2 separate regions of the Homo sapiens genome follow, and region 1 is linked to region 2. Evidence: promoter capture Hi-C in 16 types of primary human blood cells and fetal thymus (Javierre and others, 2016). All regions are on one chromosome and are shown on one strand. Each heading gives the region's core, a stretch centred on a gene start or on the middle of the fragment in contact. The rest is flanking DNA. Distances are from core to core; before and after follow the strand shown. Region 1 overlaps ST18 (ST18 C2H2C-type zinc finger transcription factor). Region 2 holds the start of PXDNL (peroxidasin like).

Region 1 (6,359 bases), core at 3,459-5,958, 590 kb before region 2:
AAAATATTGAAAAAATCACAAATTCAGATTCGTGGAAGATTCCCTACGCAACACAGCGTTTGAAGCAAAATGCAGCTTAAGGAAGTTTCCCATTAAATCCATATTTCCTTGATGCAAAATGATATCACATTGTTTTACTTGTTAATTTTTTTCTTCTCAGAATTACCACAGAAAATATTTTTTGTTTTATAATAAAACACGTGATACTCTACATTGGACATACATTTTACACTTGAAATCTGGAAAGAAAAACCTACTAGACTGGAACAGAATTCCAAAGAACGTGAGGGGACAAATCTATGGAGACATTTATATTTTGTTTTAGGGTTATTATAAAACTCTAGTTTCATCGTCTATGCATAAATGTTTAGGGGATCTAAATATCTTCACTAAATTTTATTCTGTAATCGGAAAGTTGGCATTTAAGATGATCATTCTTATAGGCTAATTAGGATGATAAAATCCTTTCCTCTTTTCAAAAGTTCACGAACGCATAACAAATTGGAACTACTTTTACAAGCCGAGTGTCCCTCTTATGCCATTAGCTTTCTTGGATTTACCTTCTAGATGACTTTGGCTCCTGTTAACTTCAGATCTTTGACATATCAAGTATGGTTGTTTTCAAAGGTTTCCCAGGCAACTGCAACAATTCATCTGGTTCTAGTCAAAAGTGCCCTTGAACTCTCAGCTCACTTCCCTTCCCTGTATGAGTAATGTGTGTAGCAAAAGGAAAAACACCAAAGACTTCATGTAATGGCTAATGTGAATGATTTGGTGAAGAGAGGAATGGATTTCACAAAAGGATCCACTTGGATGTTAAGACCTCAGCTGGCTGCCTGCGGGTTCCCTTTGTCAAGCTCTCATTTGCATTTAGGGGGAAGGCCACAACCCACATCATGTGTTCGGGGTTCTGTTTAACTCTTCCTCACAGTTCCTAGGGCCCCAAACTCTTACCCTAGGTGGCCCCAAGGACTCCTTCAAGGCCAGATCGCTGGCCCGCCAGGGAGTGACTGCCCCCAAATCTCTGAGAGATGCCTCAGGACTCCAGCTGACTCACACACACGCTGACCTGTGAGAATCATTCTGTGCTTCTTGTTTCTCACATAACCCACTGGGAAGCAATGGTTGGAGTCTTGTTGCATTTTACTTACAGGAAGAGTTTTATAATTACCTCCCAAGAAGTTCCTGAAGAACAGAGGAGGGAGTAATTGGAATCTCTGATCCTGTTGTTTGTGAAAGGTTCCTCTGCTTTACATTAATTACATTCTGTGTTGCGTTTAAAAGAAAAGATTTCACCTCATCTAGGCAGACAGTGCAGTTAGACCATCACCTTTTTTCCCCTTTATTTTGACTCTTGTCTTCACAGCTAATTTACTAGTGACTAAAATGATGGCAAATAAGGCAATATAATATGGACAGCCTGCAAATCCCACTCATGGAGCTCTGTAAGTGGGAGCAGATTGCTGTCTGAGTACAGGGCTTCTGCAGAAGTCTCCCTATCAACTCCACGTCGAACTCAAAGTCTAGAGAGCTTCAACAATTAATGATATGTCATCTGGATCCAGTCATAAAAGCATGATGACCACCCCTTCCCCCACCCCTCACCATTCCTTTCTCCTTGGATTTGTTATATTTCATTCTGTTCAATATAATTACTGAGATGTAAACATTCCATTGAAATGTGTCTAAGTAGGCAGATTTTTAAGAATCTACTTTTATGGGTCTATAACAAATTTTAGGAAGGCTATTTCATTGATATGTGAAAGTGTATAATAGTTGCTTTAGCTACTAGCCCTTCCAACAGCTACATTTACCACTGTGATTGTCACTTTGAATAATCCTTGTGTTATTAAAATTAATACAGATAAATATAATTTTATAGTAGGAAATGTAGTTGTCAGGATGTGAAACAATAGTAATCAATTTGAATAAATATTTGCTATTTGTTTTCATAAAAGTTTTAATCCTCAAAAGAGAACTCTGACCAAAATAGGAATATAGCAGGATCAATGAAACAGGTGGCATGAGTCATCTCACTGGCTTTTAATTAAAAAGGATGCTGTGGTTGTTGGCGTGGACTGGACTGCGCATAGGCAGTTTTAGAATTTCTTAAGCTGAAATCCAGCTGGAGAGTTCTTAATCAGAATGGACTTATTTTGATAATTTATAATCTGTGTATTCAGAGCATTGATGTTATAGTTTTGATACCTAAATCACCGTTTTAAAAATTCAAAGAGATATATGAATCCTGAGTCTCGGACAGTTATTCCTGAGCCAAAGGATTTCTGTGCAATGCTAATATGTATAATAGAGAATCAGTCTTTCACTGTACAGTTTTGTCATCATGTTTCAATAACTGAATGAATATTCTGAATTAATAAGCATAACGTTTGTATAAGCTAAAGACTAATCTAAGCTCTGCATTCATTGATGGGAACCTTAAGCAAATGTTTCTTTTCATCAGCTTGTTCAAAAGGCATAAACATAATTACAGTTCTGAGGCGATAACATATCGACTGGTTAAATAGTAAGTGGGTCTGGACAAGGTAACTTAAAGTTATGGGCTGCACGTTGTTTTGAGTACTTGGAAGCATCTGGAAAAAATAATTTTTTTAAAAAGATATTTTTACTGTTTATCTTATAGAAAAACAGTATGAGCATTAAACCCCCACTAGAATTTTGGAGGTTTTCTTTTTCTAAAGCGTTGGTTAAAATTCAGATAAGTTGATACTTACAGCTTGAGAGAAAAGATGGGGAAGTGGTAGAAATATCAAATCATGAGTTAGTTTTAAATTTCTCAGAATGCTCAGGGGGCAGTGAGGGAAAGAGGGACTTGCTGGCCATGTCCCCACACCTCCGCTTTGCACCTTTTGCTGAAGTTAGTTCCCGAAAACAGTGCTGGGTGTTTGGGTTACATCTGGTTCAGCCTTCTTTTCCTCCTTCCTTCTTTATCCGTCACATGGCCTGCCCTCTATCTCTTAAATCTTAGGTCTGTTGTGAGACTGGGGAAGGAGTGATGTGAACATGTGCTCCTGGGCCTGGAAATGCCCCTCTGCCCCGACTCCTTCTGTCTCAGCAGTGCTTGTCATTAATTCTCCCAACAAATACCTGAGCCCTTCTCTGTGCAGGATGGGTCTCAGTGCTTTGAATGTGCTGTCTCGTTTAATTCTCTCAAAAGCCCTTTATTGACAATGCTCTTATAATATTTTATACAGAAAGAATGGAAAGCTAATCCAATCTTTTTCTAATGTGGTTAATCAAATTTATTTATTTTTAATTAATGGTGGCTTAGAAAGCTTTCTTTCAGCATTACTATCCTTTATGAGATTGTCATAAATGTTTACTATTTTTCATTGTTCATGGCAAGGCGGCAATAGATCTTATTCAGAATTGATAATCAGTGTGATTTATCTGGTAGCCAAACCAAAAATCAAACTATTATGCTGTTTAGATATAATGGTAGCCACTAGAAGATTTACATCAAATGTTAGACCAGAAGCCCTTTCCATCAGTGACCAGGTTTGGTATCTGCTAGGAGGGAAAAGCCTGGTAACTGATCACCAGTGTTTCTGTTCTTTTTACTTTATAGTTTGTAATTTACCAAGGCATGATTAATTTTGCTGATGTTTAAGTTACTTACAATCATATTAAGAGTTAGAGAGGAGTGATATCAGCAAGATGGCTGACTAAAAGTGCCCAACACCCATTTCCTGGACTACCCCCACAAAAAATGAATAAACAATGAATAAACAACTACATTTTGACCACAGTGGCTGAAGAAGAGTGCGGGAGTACAGCAGGAGTGGCAGAAATCCAGTGGAGCACAAACACTAAGTATGGGCTCATACAGAAGAGGAGGAATCATGCCACACCCTTGCCACCCCACCTGTGCCACCCCATTCTCTTATTCAGCTCAGAACCAGGAAGGACTCCTTCCTGGGGGGAAAAGGTAAGCAGGAGGTACCCAGCAGCCCCTATTACCATTGTGGACACCAGCAGTCTTCACCACTGGAGAATTCTACAGTCCTCAAGGTCCCTGAGCTCAGCTTGGGGAGCTGCCTGGAGTTCACATAGCTGCACTGCTCCAAAGAAGGAGCCCACATTGTGCCTCAACTCTTGTAGGCCAAGCTGCTACTGCACTGTGCCATCTGGAAACCAGAGCCACTGCTAGAGTGTGTCCTGCTTGGGGGTCCAGTAGCCACTGTATCTGTTTATCCCTGAGGCCTGGCCACCATTGCACCATGCTTTCAAACATGGTAGTGCAACATTCCCCAACTGAGCTGCAGCAACTCCATACCCCCTGGGAACAAGCTACCTAGAAGCCACCCCATTTCCCCCATCCAAGTTGCTACTGTGCCCCAGCCCCAGCTACTTGGACCCAAGGCCCAGTGGAGCAGGCATGCACTTCAGTGCCTGAACCAGCCCAATGTCCCACCCCCAGGAAGTTGGAACTTTGGTCTAGGGGAGCAGTTACATCCCTGGTATCCAAGCCCTTATGGCAGTGTGCTCTTCAGGTTCCTGGATCCCAGCCCAGCAGAGCAGCCACACCCCATAGTGCTGAGCTGATGTGGTATACTGGCCCCCAGAGAAACAGCCTTGGCTGAGCTGTGCTGCCCCACCCCTGGGCTGAACAGCTGCCGTGCCCCACCTTCCTGGGTCTGGGCCAGCCCTCTGGAGTCTGAATTGACTCCAGAAGTGGCACCTGCTTCCCAGAGCCCAAGCAGTAACTGTGCTCCACTGTTCTTGGGTCCTTGCTGCCACTGCACCTGGCGTCACAGAGACTGACCTACTGCTGTATCCCACTGCTCTGGGACCATAGTCATCACTATGCAGTACCCCCACTTCTGATGCCTGAGTTGCCACTGTGCCCTATTGGTTCTAAGACCTGAATTGCAGCTGTCGCCTGCTCTCTGGGGACTGAGCGTCTAGAACACCCCTTCTTCCCTGGAGCCATGTCAATGCTGTGCCCTGATCTCCAGGATTAGAGTCACAGCTACATCCTTGAACCCTGGGCCCAAGCTACTGGGAAATGCCTTAGAGTCACAGTCCTTGGCTTGGTGGGAGACCTGCATCCACCTGTGCCTCAGAGAATGGACCTGTGCCCACATCACAGGTGCCACAGTAGTTCAACAAGACACTGAGCCCAGGACCCCAGTTCTACAGCCATTCCAATCACATGTGCCCTTGAACACAGTGATGCTATGGCTGCCTGTGGCCCATGTCACACCTGATAATAACAGGGATCCCCTCAGCTAAGTGTGCCCACTGTGGGGAAAATGACAACAGGAGAACCCCTAATGCCCTTGCTGCCAAGAACCCTAACAAACTACCATGCCACCACCACTGCCACAAACTCCTACAGCCGAAGACACTGAGGTACTTGCAGTCATTGCTGATATTAATCACAGCTGAAGAAGCTGCACAGAGACTACATTACTGCACCCACTCAGAAGCAGAGCCAAGTACTCTGCTGACCTGACACTCTAGGACTCATCTACAGGCGAAAGTCTTTCCCTATGAAAGCCCTCTATAAAATTAGAAGAGGCAACTGTTCCACTGGATGCACAGGCATCAACATAGGGACATAAGAAATATGAAAAAGCAAGGAAACATGACACCACAAAAGGAAGACCATAATTCCCTAGTAACTGGCCACAAAGAAATTGAAATTGCTTAAAAAGGAATTAAACCTAATAATTTTAAGGAAACAAGAGAATACAGATAGACAATGCAACAAAATTAGGAAAACAATTCATGATCTGAATGAGAAAGTCCACAAAGAGATAGCTATCATAAAAACTAACCAAACAGAAATCTTATAGCTGAATAACTCCATGAATAAAATTTTAAAATTGACAGCTTCAACAGCAGACTAGATCAAGCAGAAGAAAGAATCTCTGAACTTGAAAAGAAGTCTTTTGAAATAACCTAGTCAGGAGGAAAAAAGAGTGAGGAAAGCCTATGGGATTTATAAGACACTCATTAAGTGACAAAATATTTAAATATGGGGTTGTTAGAGGGAGAAGAAGGGGAAAGGCATGGAAAACTTATTTAACAAATGAGTTGCTGAAAAATTCTCAAGTCTTGGGAGAAAATGGACATGCAGATTTATGAAGCTTAATGATCTCCAAACAGGTTCAACCCAAAGAGGGCCCCACCAAGTCATATTACAATAAAAATGTCAGAAATCAAAGACACAGAGAGAATTTAAAAAGCAGCAAGAGAAAAATGTCAAATGACATATCAGGAAATCTCCATTAGACTGTCAGCAGATTTATCAGCAGAAACCTTGCAAGCCAGAAGAGAAGGGAGAAATATACTTAAAAGTGCTGAAAGAAAAAAAACCTGTCAGCCAAGAA
Region 2 (6,136 bases), core at 74-2,573:
ATTTATATTTTTTGTATTTTATATTTTGAACTGCAAACAAGGCACAAACCTGCAGGTCTTGTCTATGTCCTCCAAATCACAGGCACTGCCAAGAGCATAGTGATTGTTGGGATTTAAAGGAATAAATTTCGTTTTTTGGCTTTATTGGTATACTTGGACAATAAAAGTCATGTGAACAATGTCAAATGTAAAGTTTAAAATAAATCATTCTTGTTCATGGAGATTAGTTTTGTTTTTTAGATCTTTTTACATTTTAATCTCCCCAAAATCACATATTTAGATATGAACATTTTGCCAAAAGAGGGCAGTATTCGCCTACAGTAGAATGTAAAGGGACTGAAACATTTCTGCAGAGACAAGGATGAACTTATTTTCCTCTTAAGATTGGTCTACTAGTCTGATCATCTGGGATTGACCATGCAAGTTTTAATTTGTTTTCTATTACTTTTATGGATTTAAAACATTTTTGTTTGAAAATGTTAGTCTTTAAAGATAAAGCCAAAAATCTGTTTAAAAATACCTGCTTACAGAATGACCAAAAAGTAGATGTTTTCATATTTATTAAGTTTTCAGACACGTCCTCAACGAGGTGCTGCTCACTTCAGGGAAAGATGGCCAGTTCAAACTGCTGATGAAAAGTCTGCAACCAGCAAGACCACTGCTGCCAGTGTGTCCTGAGGGAGCTTGCATCTGTTTGACTTTACATATACATACTTAGGTTTGTCCATCAGTTGTATCCTCTTGAAGGAGGTATGTGAGTTCATGGTTTTAAGCATATAAATTTAAACGTTAAAAGAAGAAATCAGAAGTAGCCCGTTTGAGTCTTACATGAGTGAAATGTGTTGGGTTTCAGCAGCAGAATATATAGAAGGAAATGAAACAATTTTTATTAAAGAGCATAGTTTGGAATAAAGAAAGAATATGTGCACCTAGATGAACGAATTAGAACTCTGCCTGCCCTTTAGGGTTTGGTAATGTTACCAGATAAAAAAGAAGAAAAGCTGTTCTGCATTGTTTCAATACATTCTTAATCAACTTGGGCTTCAAGAGGACAGCTGGAGGCTAAGAGGTCGGGTTTTTCATCAAATGCGCAGTGGAAGTAATTTTGGAAAAGTTTGTTTGCATTATGCTGCCTAAAACACGGTGTTTTAGAAAGAGGCTTTTGCATTGAAAAGCTTCTCGTCCTCGCCTCTGGGAGTCTAGTGCTTCCTAGAGCTGCTTGTGCCCTCAGCCCTGTAATGTGATATCCCTCCTCCTGGATTGGTCAGAGGGGTGTCCTTTCCCTGGGAGCTGCTTTCCACCACGGCTCCCAAACTTGGCTCAGTCCAGCAGCCACCATCACCACCACTGCGGTTGCTGCTGCAGCTGCAGCTGCTGCTCTCCCTCCGGCTGCTTCTTCGCGTGGCCAGCAGCGAATGGAGCGATGGAGCCCAGACTGTTCTGCTGGACCACTCTCTTTCTCCTGGCCGGGTGGTGCCTGCCAGGGTTGCCCTGCCCCAGCCGGTGCCTTTGCTTTAAGAGCACCGTCCGCTGCATGCACTTGATGCTGGACCACATTCCTCAGGTACCACAGCAGACCACAGTTCTGTAAGTTCACATAAATTCCCCAGAAACCCTCTTCCCCAATGCTTCATTGCTTCTCTGCTAGGACCTGTGTCCTTTTAATTTACGATTCCTAATGCTCTCCCTGCTTGTATACTTAGAAGAGGCTTTTCACTTTTCAAACAATTTCATGGTTCTGCTCTGTTAGACTAGAAAATGTAAGCAATGATGAGTTGACATAAATATATTTGTTTTGGATTCAGTTCTCTTCCAGCATCTTCCAGAACTTAGCATTGAGAATTCTCGTCTTCATTCTTCCTTCAATAATTTTCCTGCATACTTTCTCAATTTATTCCTATTCATCCTCTACTCCCAAGTCTTTGGGCCTCTTAATTGGTCAGCACGTGTCTGCCCCATTTGGAAGGAACTAATTTAACTTTAGAGTGTGGTTTCAATTGATTATGTGCTGACAAATTGTTAGGCTTTGTACTGTGTGTACCTCCTGGGAGGGTGAAGTCCTGAGCCCTCAGCACTTGAAGCACTGTCTGTCTCCAGAACAGACCCTCAAATGGTCCAGTAGAGTTCTTGAATGCTTAAAAGCCTTGTGGAGCAGCCGCTTAGACTAATCGGCATCTAGGAGGCATTACGGGATAGTAGGGCAAACCAGAATTTGGAAGTCAAACAGGTCTGAGTTCAAATCCTATCTTCTCATCTTTAATATTCAGATAATAAACCCAAACATTTAGATTTATTTAGATTAAATTAAGTCATAATTAGATAATTAGAAGGGCAAATCACCACAAAAGAAGAAAAGGATCTGTTTCTAGGGTCTATTTTTAAAGAAAGAAAAAGACGACAAATTCAAAAATTTAAGAAAAAATAAAAGAAGAAAAGGAAAAATGCTGAAAGATGCAGACTAAAGAGGTTTCCTGCTCTATAATAAATATTTTGTGGGTTGTGTCATGTTCATGGAAGACAAAACTGCTTGCAGTGTTTCAAGTCCATTCTTGGGCAGAGGGAAATAGCTTAAAATTCCTGGAATTTTGAGATATAAATGTTTAAGAGGATCATTGCCACACATTTGTCAGTCATAATCGTGAAATGAGGACTTGGTAATAAAAAGTCCAATTTGATGGTATTTACATAGAAAATGACATATTATCCATAGATTTTCATTTCTATAAAGCATTTCATTAATTTTATATGCATGCAGATATCAAAATACGTCTTACTGTAATAACTGAAAGGATTCTTGAACTTGGGAGCACTGCTTATTGCTATGTGGACAGCACAGTTCTGCAAGTGCCTTCAGACTCAGAACCAGCCATTTGTCCTTTTGTAATGACAGTTTTTTGGTAGATAGCAGCAAAGCCTTGGAGAAGGGGCTGCTTGTCTAATGAAGTATCTTGGAGCTACATGAGGTACAACTCGACCTAAATTTTGTTTCCTAGGTGTTTCAAAGAAGAGATTAGCTTGCATTAGACACACACCTCTAAATGTAATGAGCAGAACTGAAGTGATGTTGTCAGTGTTGTCATGCAGAGCCTTCCACTATGTTTAAAAATAAAGCTTAATGGTGGATTCTCAGGCCCTTGGCTAGATTCCTGTCTGGGAGTCTGGTGCCACCACTTACAAAATGTGTTGCCTTGGACAAATTCTTAACTTCTTGGTGTCACAGTTTCCTAATCTGTAAAAATGGAGATGCTAACAGTGTTTGATATGGTTTGGATCTGTGTCCCCACCCAAATCTCATGTTCAATTGTAACTCCCAATGTTGGAGGTGGGGTGCAGTGGGAGGTGATTGGATAGTGGGGGCGGATTCTCATGGTTTAACACCACCTCCCTTGGTGTTGTCATGGCGAGAGTGAGGTATCACAAGATCAGGTTGTTTAAAAGTATATAGCTCTTCTTGCGTCTCTCTTCCTCTTGCTCTGGCCATGTGAAGTTCTCACTCCCCCTTTGCCTTCTGCGATGATTGTAAGTTTCCTGAGGCCTCCCCAGAAGCCAAGCAAAAGTTGCTGTACTTCTTGTACAGCCTGCAGAACCATGAACCAATTAAACCTCTTTTCTTTGTAAATTACCCAGTTTCAGGTATTTCTTTATCACAGTGTGTGAAAACAGACTGATGCACTCTTCACCCTATTGGTTATCTTGAAGATTTAATGAATTAATGCATTTTAAGTACCTAGAAAATTGCTTAGCTCTAGTAAACACTATGGAAGTTTTCACTATTAGTATCATGTTTGCAATTCAGGACAGGAATTACAAACCTAAATATCTCTGGGAACCTGCCAGTAAACAATTTGAGGGAAGTGGGGTAGATGAAAGGCAGACTACTGTGTGATGAATAGCAACTAGCCTGAAGCTTGGAGTGTGTGGGGATGGTAATGAAGGCAGAGGCAGCTCTTGCTAATGGGGCAGCCAGTTACTTAGCTAATTGATGGCCTTTGGGGATTTGGGCCATAGTTTCAAGAAAATATGGAAGCCAAAAGTGACATTCCCTAGCTTTTCAATATTAGCAGCTAATTACATTTTTAGAAATGGAAAGGCAAAAATATACAAGCCCAACCATGCATATTTGTAGGTTGCTTTTTGCCTAGGACCTTCAGTTTGTGACTTCTAGTAGAGAAATGGTATAAAAGCTGAGAAGTATATGTAAAGCCTGTAAAAATTGCTCCTCTACTCCTCTGGGGCTAAAAATCCTTGATGTAGGATTGCATTTTATGTCAGCAATATCATGAAAGATGACAATAACAATTATGGGAAAAAGCCAATTAGTTTTTGAAAACTAAGGCAAATGGAAGCTGAATGAATTTCTCCCCAGCAGCAGAACCAATAGTTTTTGTTAAACCGCCCTTATGTATGTTTATTGTCATTATAACATGGAAATGATGTAAATAATATATTTAGCTCTGCAAATGGCCAACATGCTTAGTAAATGCTTATTAGTAGTAGTGTTAAAATTTCCTTAATTTTTTCCATTTTTACATGTTTTAAAATTTTAGCCTGAATGCAGAAAATATTTTCCTAAATCATAGATAAGAAAACTGTATTATTTTTAAGATTGGTTACAGTTGATCAGGGTTTTAAGTTTAGAAAAATGCAAAACTGTCCCTCCAAATTTTAATTTCATTCTGACTATAAAGATATTGTGTTTCTAAACTAATATCATTTACCAAAAAGCCTGCTGCCATTGAGAAAATCTCACTCTTTGTGCCGTGGATTTTAGTAAAACAAATCTTTCAGAATTAGAATTTGCAAACAAAAAAATGTCCAGTAATGAACACAGCATCTTTAGGGAGCCTGTTCAGTAATCAGAAGCAGTGTATGGTGAGTGTGATTTGACTCCATCCTATTCCAGGGTCATTAGGTTGTACTTTCCTAATTTCCTTAGTTACTGGTTAAGAAATGGACTCAGTGACTGCAAATTGAACATGCTCTAAAAACCACCTTGATTAGAAAAAGTTTTAAGCTTAGGGCTGTTTTAATGATCGAGGATTTTCCTAAAAGTCATAAATACAAAAGTATTTACAATGTGAAATTCTAAACATTTAATTTAAAGACATTTTCTTTATGTGGAAAGCTTTCTTTGCTGTCCAAATAATAGAAAACTTGAGGAACAAGATGGGGGTGGGGAAATGGAAAATGTCTTATGCTCAGTCATGAAAAAGTGTGTCCAGCTGATAAAAAATTTCACCTTGTTCAAGAAGAAAATAGAATTCCTTCAGCTCTTCCAATTTCCATTCATTTTATATATATATAATATATATATCATTTTGTATATATACATAAAATGATGTGTTATGGAATAATAGGGAGTAGCTGCAATCTGAGGCAGCAAACATAATTTTATAATTTAAATTATATATAAAGTTTTATATATAAAATTGTATAATTTAAAATATATATATGTATATATAAAATACAACTTAATAGGGCTTACTTTTACCTTTGTTACAAAATTTTTTGTAGCTTGTTTGTAACCGACATAACTTACTGGCTTTGAATGACCACTTGGCAGTAATGAACAGGCCTGAACTTTTTGGACCTTCCCCCACCTGGCATTGTTGAGGGGAAGCACAGTGGGACCCAGATGAAGTGTGTCAACATTCAAACTTCCCCCAGTGGTTGACTTGTTGGGGAGAGAAATGAAACTGAAAGTGGGCTGTCACTGACCTCCTGACTCAGGCCAGTGTGGTTCTGTGGAGAGGGGCTGGAAGAGGCTGTTCTGGAAGGAAGGGCAGGTGAGTGTGGATGGAGCCCAAGCAGGAGAATGGACATAGGGACAATGTGGAGGTGACAGCTTGAGGAGGTAGAGGAGTAAAGGCCAGCACCACTGGCTGGGGTATAATGTACCCTGGAGACTTGGGAGTCATCCTTCAAGAAACAAATGGACAGACAAATTGTTTTAGAAGGTCAGTGGAGCCAGGATATCCTACAACAGCCTGTACTTAGATGGTATATGCTGATTAAAGTATTAGAACAGTGTTCCCTACACTAAGTGCTGCCTTTCAACCCTACTGTAGATTCTATAAATGAAGTGAAGGGATGTGTTATGGAATAGTAGCTTTGTGGGGAGTAGCCGCAACCTGAG

The links. The method cuts DNA at HindIII sites, captures the fragments that hold promoters and counts their contacts. A CHiCAGO score of 5 or more calls a contact.
Region 1: a fragment that was not itself captured here is called in contact with the fragment with the promoter of PXDNL in region 2 in 1 of 17 cell types (fetal thymus); the score reaches 5.5 in fetal thymus.

The regions. Positions count from the first base shown.
Region 1 is chr8:52,401,098-52,407,456 of GRCh38, reverse strand. All of the region lies in intron 2 of ST18 (ST18 C2H2C-type zinc finger transcription factor), which reads left to right. Among named protein-coding and RNA genes, the nearest start is that of ST18, 5.5 kb to the left of the region's middle. The HindIII fragment of the contact is 2,820 bases long and covers 3,299-6,118 here.
Region 2 is chr8:51,804,632-51,810,767 of GRCh38, reverse strand. It overlaps PXDNL (peroxidasin like), which reads left to right and starts at 1,323. Exons shown (of 23, transcript NM_144651.5): 1 at 1,323-1,587. The coding sequence starts at 1,424. RefSeq lists enhancers at 906-1,427, 1,428-1,950. The HindIII fragment of the contact is 1,936 bases long and covers 1,178-3,113 here.